Regions from separate parts of the Homo sapiens genome. Here region 2 is linked to region 1. Evidence: promoter capture Hi-C in human tissues and cell types (Jung and others, 2019). All regions are on one chromosome and are shown on one strand. Each heading gives the region's core, a stretch centred on a gene start or on the middle of the fragment in contact. The rest is flanking DNA. Distances are from core to core; before and after follow the strand shown. Region 1 holds the start of PTGIR (prostaglandin I2 receptor). Region 2 overlaps ARHGAP35 (Rho GTPase activating protein 35).

Region 1 (5,943 bases), core at 1,980-4,479:
AGAGATGCCTAAGGGGAGAGGGATGGGGGCCAGGTATGTGGGTCCCCCCACCCTTGGAAGCTGGGAGGACCCTCGGGCTCCACAGATTTTTGAGTATAACGTCCCTGCAAGAAGGTGGCGCCACCCGGCTGGGCCCCCTGAAACTGCCGCAGAGCTGCGGTGGTGCCTGTGTGTATCTGTCCACGGCATCTGAGTCTCTGAGTCAGAGTAACCCCCAAAAAAGATTTAAGGACCCCCCAATCCGGCCTGGCCTCTTGCATTTTACAGAAACAGAAACTGAAGCTCAGAAGAAAGGTGGCACGACCAGGTGTCACAGACACTGAGTGGGTACCAGGGTCTGTGCCACTCCCATTGGGGAGGGGCAGGACGGGGTCCCCGCAGGAAACCGAGGTGCAGAGGCAAGGGTGGGGCCTGCTCTGAGGCAGAGGGGAGCCAGGTAGGTGGGAGATCAGGCTCTACAATGGAAGGACCCAGGACCAGGACCTGGCTCTGTGTGACTGGGCGAAAGACACTGCCCCTCATCTGTAAAAACGGGGATGGGAGAGAACGTTCTCTTGGTTTCCTGCCAAATACTGTGGAATGGGTGGCTATGATCATTTTGAAAATTATCTTAGGAAGTATCTGTAAGCCACTAAGCACGGGGCGGGCATAGAGAAGTGCTCAATGAGTGGTGGTCTTGTCATTACAGGGGTGGGGAAGGATGGGGGATGCATTTCATCATGGGGGGCTCAGGATGCCTAAGCTGGGAGACAAGGTATCAGAAGAAGTCAGATGCAGAAAGACCCCTCCAGAAAGCCAGGAGCTGTCTGACTGAGGACCAAGCCTCTGTCTGATTTGTTTTTGTTTTCTTTGTTTTTGTTTTGAGACAAGGTCTTGCTCTGTCAGCTAGGCTGGGATGCAGTGGTATAATCACAGCTCACTGCAGCCTCAACCTCCCAGGCCGGAGCAATCCTCCCACCTCAGCCTCACAAGTAGCTGAGACCACAGGCACAGGCCATCATGCCAGGCTAATTTTTAAATGTTTCATAGAGATGGGGTTTCACCATGTTGCCCAGGCTGGTCTCAAACCTCTGGGCTCAAGTGATCGTCCTGCCTCGCCTTTCTTTTTCTTTTTTTTCTTATTTTTTTTTTTTTTTTTTTGGGACGGGGTCTCACTCTGTCACCCAGGCTATAGTGCAGTGGCACGATCTCAGCTCACTGCAACCTCCGCCTCCGGGGTTCAAGCGATTCTCCTGGCTCAGCCTCCCAAGTAGCTGGGACTTCAGGCATGTGCCACTACGTCCGGCTACTTTTTATTTATTTATTTGTTGTATTTTTAGTAGAGACAGGGTTTCATCATGTTGGCCAGACTGGTCTCGAACTCCTGACCTCAAATGATCCGCCGGCCTCGGCCTCCCAAAGTGCTGGGATTACAGGTGTGAGCCACCGCATCCGGTCCTGCCTCGGCCTTTCTACATGCTGGGATTACAGGCGTGAGCCACCATGCCCACGATGTCTCACCTCTTTTGAGCCTCAGTCTCCCCATCTGTGACATGGGCACAACCCACAGAGCTGCCCTCCTCCTCTCCCCACTCCTCCCAGCTCCGGAGGGGACTCACCGTGAGAGGCAGGGAGCACACGGCCATGACCACTGTCATGAGGGCCAGCAGGATCAGGTGGTCCACCTCGTCCTCTCCGGTGCGCGGCCGTGGACCCAGAGAGCCCTGGTGGCGCTTCTGCTGGCGGTACATGCGGCAGAGGCTGAGGGTGACCGAGCCGTTGCAGAGGAAGATGGCAGCCACCAGCAGGGCCACCAGGCCGGCGTAGGCCAGCGAGAAGGCGGCGCCGCCCGGCTGGGCCCAGCGCATGCGGAGGAAGCACCAGCTGCCGGGGCAGTACTGCTGGTGTTGGCCCAGGCCCAGCAGGGGCAGCGCGCAGAAGAGGACGCAGAAGGCGTAGATGGCTGGCAGCGCCAGGCGGGCGCAGCGGGGCCCGTCCAGCTGCGCGTAGAGGTAGGGGTGGCTCAGCGCCAGGCAGCGCTCCACGGCCATGGCAAAGAGGATGAGCATGGACGCCAGGCCGAAGAAGGTCATGGCGAAGGCGAAGGCATCGCACAGGGCGGGGCCGCCTCGGGCCAGGCCCAGCAGGGAGCTGTTGCGCGCATAGGCCACGAACACGGCCGGGCTCAGGAAGCTGGTGCCCAGCAGGTCGGTGGCCGCCAGTCCGGTCACCAGCACCGCGAAGGCCGAGGGGCGCGCCGGTCGCCGTGCGCTCAGGATGCCCAGGGCCAGCCCGTTGCCCACCACACCGGCCACGAACATCAGGGTGCTGGTGGCCGGCCCCACCGAGCCCCGCACGTAGGTGAGGTTCCTGCACGAATCCGCCATCCCAGGTCTGGGCTGGAGGGTTCCCAAGGTGGGGGGTCAGAGGGAGCCAGGGCTACCCCCACCACCCAGCCCACTCAGATGTCCCTGCTGGCCAGTCCTTTTGGCAGCTGGGGCCTCCCAGCCAACCCCCAGTTCTCCTGTGTGTGCGGGTATGCAGTCCTCTCCCCTCTGGCTTCTCCAGTATCTCTCTCTGTCTCTCCCCACCTTCCTGTTTCTCTTTCTCTCTTTCTTTTCTTTCGTTTCTTTTGAGACAGAGTCTCACTCTGTTGTCCAGGATGGAGAGCAATGGCATGATCTCGGCTCACTGCAACCTCCACCTCCTGGGTTCAAGCGATTCTCCTGCCCCAGCCTCTGGAGTAGATGAGATTACAGGCGTCCACTACCACGCCCAGCTAATTTTTGTATTTTCAGTAGAGACGGGGTTCCACCATGTTGGTCAGGCTGGTCTCGAACTCCTGACCTCAGGTGATCCATCCACCTTGGCTTCCCAAAGTGCTGAGATTACAGGTGTGAGCCACCATGCCTGACACCCACCACCCCCCCACCACCTCCTGTTTCTTTCCTTCTCTAGCTCTGTTTCTGCCATTAAAGAGACAGAGAACATCCGGGCATTGCCAGTTCTTTCCCTCCCTGTCTCTCGGTCTCTTGCTGATATCTCCCTGTCTCTGTCCCCTCCCTTGTCCTTGTCCTCCCCGTACCTTTCTCCCTCTAACCCCACACCCTCTACCTGCTCCTGCTCTGTGTTGCTGCATCCCCAGCCCCTCACCGCACCTCTCCAGTCTTGCCCAGGCTCTCCTGTCCCGTGCGTCTGTGCCTTCACTTGCTTTGCTCCTCGTGTCTCTCGCTGCCTGTGTCGGTCTGTGTGTCAGCTTCTCCTTCCCTCCTCCCTCCGTCCCTCCCTCCTTCCCACCCTCCTCAGCTTGCCTGCTCACCCCAGCTTTTTCATTTCCTCTCTCTGCCCCGCCCTCCCTCACTGTTCTCCAGAGGGCCCCCTGGCACACTCCCCACTCCCCGTCCACCCGCCCAATCCAGGACATCCATCTCCCATCGCTGCCTCCACTCTCCTCCCCACATCCTCTCTTGGTTCCCATCACTGAGCCACCTGCCACCTCCCCACACACAGGTCTCCTCCCTCCCCCAGTGTCTCCCTCTCTGGCCTGGGTGGGGAATTCCTGAGTCACCATCACTTAGGCTTGGAGCCTCCCGGGGTAGTAGGGGGCCTCTAGGAGGGACCTGAAGAGCACAGTTGACCAGGCTTCAGTGGGGTGGTCTTGGCCTGGGCTGTCTCAGGGTGGCCTCTGGGATCTATTCTGGGCTCCAGGCCCCGGGGCTGAGGACATTGCCCAGGGATTGAGAAATGACCAGGAAATTCCTCTCTGATGTAGTGTTTTCCAGACACCACTGAGAGTTCTGGTCCCTGGACACAATTCACTCCTTCCAGAAAGCTGAGGAAGGAGGCTTGGCCAGAGAGAGACATGCCAGTCCCTCGAGCCTGTCCCTGGGCACCCAGCTCACCCTGCAGAGACCCGAGAAGAAAGCATGAAGGGGTGTATTTGGTGTCCAGTTGTCAGGGACAGGCTTGGGAGACTTCCATGGCCCATGATGGAAAGGTAGCACTGGGCCACCGTCCGACTTCTCGCACAGCACCCCTAGGCCCCAGGCCAAGCTCTGGTGACCTTGACCTTCAGGAATCATATTTTGATCACAGGAAGCTGTCCACAGCTCCAACATTGCTGCCATGTGTCCCCCACCCTCCCCAAACACAGCCAAGCCACCACCGCTGCAGCCTCGGGCCAGTGTGACAGACCCACATGTTCCCGCTACCCGCACAGCGTTCACGGGTCTCCCTTCCCACGGAGTCGGTGGCTTCCCAGGCAGCCTCCCAGCCCAAAAGGGCCAGATAAAACCTCAGAGACCCTCTCTGAGCCCCGCTGTTTCTCAGGGGGACGGTCTCAGATCCATTCGACTTGGCTTCCTGTTTCCATCTGACCACCTTTTTTCTTGCTGCGAGATGGTCCCAGGTGAGGAGAGGGAGCTGGTAGACTTCAGCCTCCTTCTCTGTGCGTGGGGTAACACGGGCCTCAGGGACCTGGTGGCCAGCCTCGGCCTGCAGCACATCCCAGATTGGTCTTTGTAACAAGGAGAGAGGCTGTGCGGGTGTCTCTTGTCCAAGGCCAGGAGGGATGTGTCCAACCCAAGGACTGGACTGTGGGCAGCTGCCGTCTTGCCCTCTGTACCCCGGTGTGTGACCACAACCCCTTTGCCCCTCCCCCCCATCTCCCTATCACCCTTGCCCAGCTGGCACCCGCAGCTTCCAGCAGGATGGACGCCCAAGTTCCAGCCCCACCGTGGCTCCCTAAGGGACCCCCCAGCCCTGCTCTGGGGGTGCCTGTACATGTGGGCTCCAGGTCCTGCCACGTTGTCCCGCCTCATGCCGTGAGGTCCCCAGACAGACCAGAGGGAACTCAGGAAGTTATATCATATTAATGAAGGATGATGCCTGGCAGGCGTGCATCTTGTTTCGGCATCGGGGGGGCCTCTGGTTCCCGGAGACTCCCTCTCTCGCTTCCTGTTACAAGGACGGTTAACATTCAGGAAGTCCCCTCTGCTCCCATGCCCAGTGGGACCACAGTCAAACCCTTGTCCCTTCCAGGCCTCAGTTTCTTTTTTGTTGTTGTTTTTCTTTTTGCTTGTTTGTTTTTGTTTTGAGATGGAATCTTGCTCTGTCACCCAGGCTGGAGTACACTGGCATGATCTCAGCTCACTGCAACCTCCGCCTCCCGGGTTCAAGCGACTCTCGTGCCTCAGCCTCCCGAGTAGCTGGGATTACAGGCATGTGCCACTGCGCCCAATTTTTATATTTTTAGTAGAGGTGGGGTTTCACCATGTTGGCCAGGCTGGTCTTGAACGCCTGACCTCAGGTGATCCGCCCGCCTCGGCCTCCCATAGTGCTGGGATTACAGGCGTGAACCACCTTGCCTGGCTGTTCGTTTGTTTTTGAGACAGGGTCTTGCTCTGTCACCCAGGCTGGAGTGTAGTGCTGCAATCTCGGTTCACTGCAACCTCTACCTCTGGGGTTCAAGCGATCCTCCCACCTCAGCCTCCTGAGTAGCTGGGACTACAGGCACCCACTGCCACGCTAGCTAATTTTTGTATTTTTGTAAAGACAGGGTTTCACTGTGTCACCCAGGCTGGTCTCAAACTCCTGGACTCAAGTGATCTGCCTACCTCGGCTTCCCAAAGTGCTGGGATTATAGGCCACCACGCCTGGCCTCAGGCCTCAGTTTCCCCGCCGATGCCACTAGGAGTCATGAGCCCTCGCAACCCCAGGATCGGTTCTGTGTTCCTGCATCAGGAGCAGGTAGGGGTGGCAGTGACTGTGACTCCCTCCTAATGAGGGGACTGAGTTCCCCAGAGTCCGTACTGGCGCCAGACATGCCTCAGTCACCTTGCCCTGAAACCCAGCCTCCTGCTTGGCCGTGGCCCCAGCTAGCCGGGCCAAGCCCACAGCAGGGTCCACACGGGGGTTCCACTCCCCAGCCAGGTGCCTTGGGGTGAGAAATCACCCACGGTGCGT
Region 2 (5,943 bases), core at 1,090-3,589, 340 kb after region 1:
TATGAATAAGATAGTTCATATTGCCCCCTAGAAGGACTCTTAGTCTTCTCTGGTCAAAACCAAGTCAATAAAGGAAGTATTAGTTGGAAACCCTCAGTCTCCCCAGCCTCAATACCTAGCTTCACTTGTACATCCAGCAGCCCCTGGGGTCTACTTTGCAACCTTCCAGTTTGCCATATGTGATATTTTCTATTGGATCTTTTAAAGATATTTTTGGTATTTTTTTCTTTCTTTGCAAAATATTTATACGATTTTTGGTATTATTTTATTTAGTGCATTTTAACCATTCCATTGAGATTTTTATTTTATTTATATACAAAATGCAATTGAGGCCAGGCGCAGTGGCTCATGCCTGTAATCCCAACACTTTGGGAAGCTGAAGCAGGAGGATTGCTTGAACCCAGGAATTCAAGACCAGCCCCAGCAACATATCGAGACTCTGTCTCTACAAAAAATTAGAAAATTAATCAGGTGTGCTGGTGCATACCTGTAGTCCTGGCTGATTGGGAGACTGAGGCAGGAGAATCACTTGAGCGTGGGAGGTTGAAGCCATGGTGAGCCATGGTTGCACCACTGTACTCCAGCCTGAGTAACAAAGCAAGACCCTGTCCCCCACCCCCAAAAAATGCAATTGAACATCTTTGTAATGTATGGTCCTTCATTTCAAAGTCATGACACCTCTCTGCTTTTTTTCCTCTTCTCTTTTTTCTTGTGTAGTCATTACAGTTGTTTGTCTTACTTTCTAGGGTTGATGGGATGGAGTGAGTGTAATAAGTTAGTCTATAATAATATTTCTGGCCTATCAAGTACAAGGCATTTTTGAAGCCAAGAAGATCCTGAGGAAGCCTGAGGCCAGCCCCCATTGGAGATGACTACACACATCAAAGAGAAAATTAATATCTCTCCACAGTCAGTTTGCCCAGTGCCCATGAGGCTGCAGGGGTTAGTGCTGCAGAAGTCAGGGAGCTTGCTTGCTTGGAGTCTGGGATGGAGGCTTGTCCTTAAAGATACACTGGATTCTCTAACAGGATGGGAGGAATAGTCTAGGTGTGGAAAGTCAACTGAATGAGAGTCAGGTGTAGAGGTGAGAGGCCGTGCTGACCACGTAGCCATATTGCCCTAAAATCCTTTGAACGTCAGCCTCCAGCAATTGGACTTGGCCTGGGCTTTTCAGATTTTTTTTTTTTTTCTCAGATCCCTAGAATTGTAAGGGAGTCCTTCTGCATGGGGACGGGAAAGGTCAGGCCACCAGGACTCTGGATCCTTCAGCCTTAAGGTTCAGTTTAAGATTTCATTTGGAAGAAGGATTTTCTCACTCCTGAGAAAGCTTGTCAGCCCTCACCGTTACCATTTGCGGGAAGGTAGGGTTTGAAGGTTTTCATCCCAGAGAATCTGCTGACCTGAGTCAACAGCATGTCCTCCATGGGGAGGGGGTCTCTCCCTTGTTACCTTCCCACACCAGTCAACCTCATCAGTCAGTCCCATTGTTTTTACCACCTAAGCGTGTTTTCAGCCTGGCCCCTGCCCCTGCGTTTAGTCTCTCACCCTCTTCTTGGTTTACTGTGGTAGCCTCTTTGTAATTGACCTTCCTGTTTCTGGTCTCATGTCCTTTCAGTCCCTTATGCACACTGCTGCAAATATCTTTCCAAAATAAATGGGATCACTTCATCTTCACCTGCTTAAAACTCATCAGTGGTTCTGTATCACTCTAGGATGAAGTTTCATCCTACTACTTACCAGCAGGATGTGGTCCCTGCCCACTGTCTAGCTCTGCCTCTTGCCATTTCCTTCATTCACTCTAAACTTCAGCCCACAGATTAAAACTACGCACAGTTCCTTAAGCTGCCATTATATTTCTCACCCGCACTGCCTTTCCTTGCTGTTCCACTTCGAGACTCCCTCCCAGAGTCCTTCTCTGATCTGCTCTGTGAGCCAGGGCTCCCTGCCGTGTCTGTCACGCCCGGAGTCCTTCTCTGACCTGCTCTGTGAGCCAGGGCTCCCTGCCATGTCTGTCACGCCCTGTGCTTTCCCAGTGAACACGTAGCACACTGTACTCTGATTGTCTTCCTTCCTCAATGGATCCTAAGTTCCTTGAGGGAAGGGACCGGGTCATCTTCATTGTCTCCTCCAAGCCAAGCATACAGGGCTCTAGTAAATGATGATGAATGACTGAATGGCACAGAAACACTCCAGAGACCTCTCCCCTCAAAAGCTTCATTCAGTGGTGGAAACGTGGAATTGTATACATAGAAAGGGAGGAGGAAGAAGATTCATATAACACTAAGGTCTTGAGCAAGGTGGCAGTATCTGGGCAGGAGCAAATGCCCAGTGTTTAGTGTAGGGGCACAGCATGTGTGTTGCTGATAGGGCATGCGTGTGAAACATTTAGGTGGGATATCTAAATAAATGGGCTTGGACAGAAGGAGCTGTGGGTCAGCAGAGCAGGAGGGAAGAAAGCAAGGGAATCCACCGGCAAGGCTAATGGGAAGCCTGCTGTCCCTCGGCTGGAGGCCAGCCACAAAGTGTCACACACATCCTTCCTGAGTTTGGGGAAATATCTGTAGGTCACTTCAGAATTTGGGTTCAAAATAATATGGAGGCCACATTATTCATAATAGCCCCAAAATGGTAAGAACCCAAATATCCCACTGATGAGTGAATGGATAACGAGATATAATATATTCATACAGTAGAATATTATTCGGCCGTAAAAAGGAACAAAGTAGTGACGTGCTACAGATGGATGAACCTTGAAAACATTACGCTAAGTGAGGTAAACTAGTCACACAAGATCACATGGCCCATGATCTCATTTACACAGAATTATCTAGAATAGGCTAATCTATAAAGATAGAAAGTAGATTAGTGGGCCGGGTGCAGTGGCTCACACCTGTAATCCCAGCACTTTGGGAGGCCAAGGCAGGCAGATCATCTCAGGTCGGGAGTTCAAGACCATCCTGGCCAACATGATGAAACCCTGTCTCTACTAAAAATACAAAAATTAGCCGGGCGTAGTGGTGTGTGCCTGTAATCCCAGCTATTCAGGAGACTGAGGCGGAAGAATCTCTTGAACCTGGAAGGCAGAGGTTGCAGTGAGCCAAGGTTGCACCACTGCACTCCAGCCTGGGCCAGAGAGCAGGACTGTCTCAAAAAAAAAATAGAAAGAAGTAGATGAGTGGTTGCCAGGGGCTGCGAGAAGGGAGAAATTTGGAGTGGCTGCTCATGGATACAGTTTTTTGGGTGTTGATGACAGTGCTCTAAAATTGTGGTGATACTTGTGCAACTCTGAATGTGCTCACAGCCATCGAATTGGACACTCTCACAGTGGGTGAATTGTATGTTGTGTGAATTATATCTCAATAAAACGGTTGTGAAATAATAATCATAATAAACGGAGGATAGGTGGATAGATGTTTTACTCCAGGTTTGCTACTTAAAATTTTTCACTGAGTCTGCAGTGGCCTGTGTTCTTTTTGAGGTGGGTCCTTGGAGAAGAGACCTGCTCTGACAAAGCTTCCTCACTGCCTGGTGGTTTCTCCTGTCTGGCACATACACTCTGTCGGACTGCTTGAGGCACTGCTCCACTCTCAGGAGCAACCAGGGATGGGAGACAGCACTAGTGTCTTCGGTGAACGTCTGCATCCAGCCCGCGTGAGCTGCGACACACAGACCCTTAGAGAGCACTTGCCTCCTGCAGAGGTCTAGGGGCAGAGGGTTGGACCAGTCCTGCCCTCAATAACCACTCAGCGACTTGTTTTCTGTGGGGTGTCATCAGCTCAGAGAAGCAACACGTCTTTCCTAGGTTCTCTGAAGGAGATCTACTCATGCCATTGTTGGATCTGTCTGCTACAAGTGTTACTGGGCTGGATTCGAGGACTTTGTTTTTCCATCTGCCCTCTGTATTTTCCTAGGAATGCTTCTGTGAATACCCCCCTCCCACCTGCCAAGGCAAGTGAGGCAGCAGCACCAGGAGAGCTGGACCCCTGCACACACCACCACTGCCACCACGCTGCCTTTGCTCCGCTGCCTGGCTTCTCTGTTTCCCCTACTGAACTGTGAGGAATTGGGGCAAAGACTGCCTCTTCTTTCCATTACCTGTGACCCATAGTAGGCACTCGGGTATCTATTGAAGGAATTAGTGAATTTTTCTTTCCACGGATTGAATTAGATTGGGACAAAGAAAGAAAGTCATGGGGTGCAGGGTGAATTCTTGGGGCTTGATCACTTCAAGATCTCATCTTGGCTTAAGTCTGTCAACATTTTTCTTTTTCCTTACCCAGCCCTAAGCTATTTCCATTGGCAATATATTGCACACAAGCTGTGTTTCACTTCTTAATGCTATGGGATATTGCTGCTACAAGAGCCATCCTTGGTGTTTGCAGAAATATTTGTGATTTGAGGAACCCAGTGCAGTGTAGAGCAGGTAATGTGGGGGAGAGCAAACTCACACCCCTGCAGTCTCTAACTTGAAGGACTGTGCAAGCAGGCATGTTCCTTACGTAGGGGTGCTTAACCTAAGGTCTGTGGATAGGCTATGGAAGTCTGAACTCCTCAACATTACTGCGGAAATTTTGTGTGTGTGCACACACACCCAGGTGTACACTTGCCCTGTGGATGGTGCAGAGTCTATACCCTTCATCAGGAGATCAGAGTGAGGGGCGTCTCCTCCCCTGAAAAAGTTAGAGATCACTGTTCATTCACAGCGTTTGTGGAAACTATACCACTGATCGAGAGCAAGCCAGGACGATGATGCAGCCTTGTTCTCAAGGGATTTATAATCTAGTAAGGGTGAAGATTTCACCCTAAACCATGTAGAGCCTACAAAAGGAGGTCAGGGAGGCCAGGGAGGGCTGGGAGGTAGAGTTGTTGGGACTTAAAGGATGACTCGAAGTGGAATGATTGAGCCTAGATCAAATCATTTTCTCTTCACAGCTCTCCGTGACAGGAGACTGCATAGCTTCCCTGTGAGTCCATGGGCCCCAAAGTGATTATAACTGACCTCTAGCTTGACTGTGCCCATCCCCTGCCATTGGATCCTCTCCAAAACAGACAGTCATTGTCACGTATACTCACACGACACACAGGGAAAATAGCAACCAACAAACTGTTTCCATGTGTTAGAGTGGTAGAACCTGGCTCCATTTCCAGTGTCTCACCTCCATGTGTATGAACTAAAAATAGGCAAACTTGGCTGGGCGCGGTGACTGACGCCTATAATGCCAGCACTTTGGGAGGCCGAGGCAGGCAGATCACGAGGTCAGGAGTTCAAGACCAGCCTGGCCAATATGGTGAAACCCCATCTCTACTAAAAATACAAAAATTAGCCGGGCGTGGTGGCGTGCGTCTGTAGTCCCAGCTACTCGGGAGGTGGAGGCAGGAGAATCGCTTGAACCCGGGAGGCAGAGGTTGCAGTGAACTGAGCTCACGCCGCTGTACTCCAGCCCGGGCGACAGAGCCAGACTCCATCTCACACACACACAAAAAAAATAGACAAACTTCTGGGGGGTATCAGGGTGTAATGACTCCCTTGGTTTTTTGGGTTTTTTTTGTTTTGTTTCTCTTTTTTGGGGTTTTTTTTTTTGAGACGGAGTCTTGCTCTGTCACCCAGGCTGGAGTGCAATGGTGTGATCTCGGCTCACTGCAACTTCCCCCTCCCAGGTTCAAACGATTCTCCTGCCTCAGCCTCCTGAGCAGCTGGGATTACAGGCGCACGCCACCACACCTGGCTAATTTTTGTATTTTTAGTAGAGACGGGGTTTCACCAAGTTGGTCAGGCTGGTCTCAAACTCCTGACCTTGTGATCTGCCTGCCTTGGCCTCCCAAAGTGCTGGGATTACAGGTGTGAGCCACCGCACCTGGCCGGCTCCCTCAGTTTTATCCTTCCCTACAGAGAGGTGGCCTCACATACATCCATCTCACTTATGTTTTTATGTGATTGCAGAA

Evidence for each region. The method cuts DNA at HindIII sites, captures the fragments that hold promoters and counts their contacts. A contact is called where the count stands out against the background at its distance.
Region 2: a contact is called between a fragment that was not itself captured here and the fragment with the promoter of PTGIR in region 1, in 3 of the 25 tissues and cell types used here (IMR-90 fibroblasts, dorsolateral prefrontal cortex and lymphoblastoid cells).

What each region holds. Positions count from the first base shown.
Region 1 is chr19:46,621,860-46,627,802 of GRCh38, forward strand. It overlaps PTGIR (prostaglandin I2 receptor), which reads right to left and starts at 3,230. Exons shown (of 3, transcript NM_000960.4): 1 at 3,138-3,230; 2 at 1,599-2,378. The coding sequence starts at 2,366. RefSeq lists an enhancer at 3,445-3,945. The HindIII fragment of the contact is 28,599 bases long and covers 1-5,943 here.
Region 2 is chr19:46,965,937-46,971,879 of GRCh38, forward strand. All of the region lies in intron 3 of ARHGAP35 (Rho GTPase activating protein 35), which reads left to right. Among named protein-coding and RNA genes, the nearest start is that of NPAS1, 51 kb to the right of the region's middle. The HindIII fragment of the contact is 4,877 bases long and covers 1-4,778 here.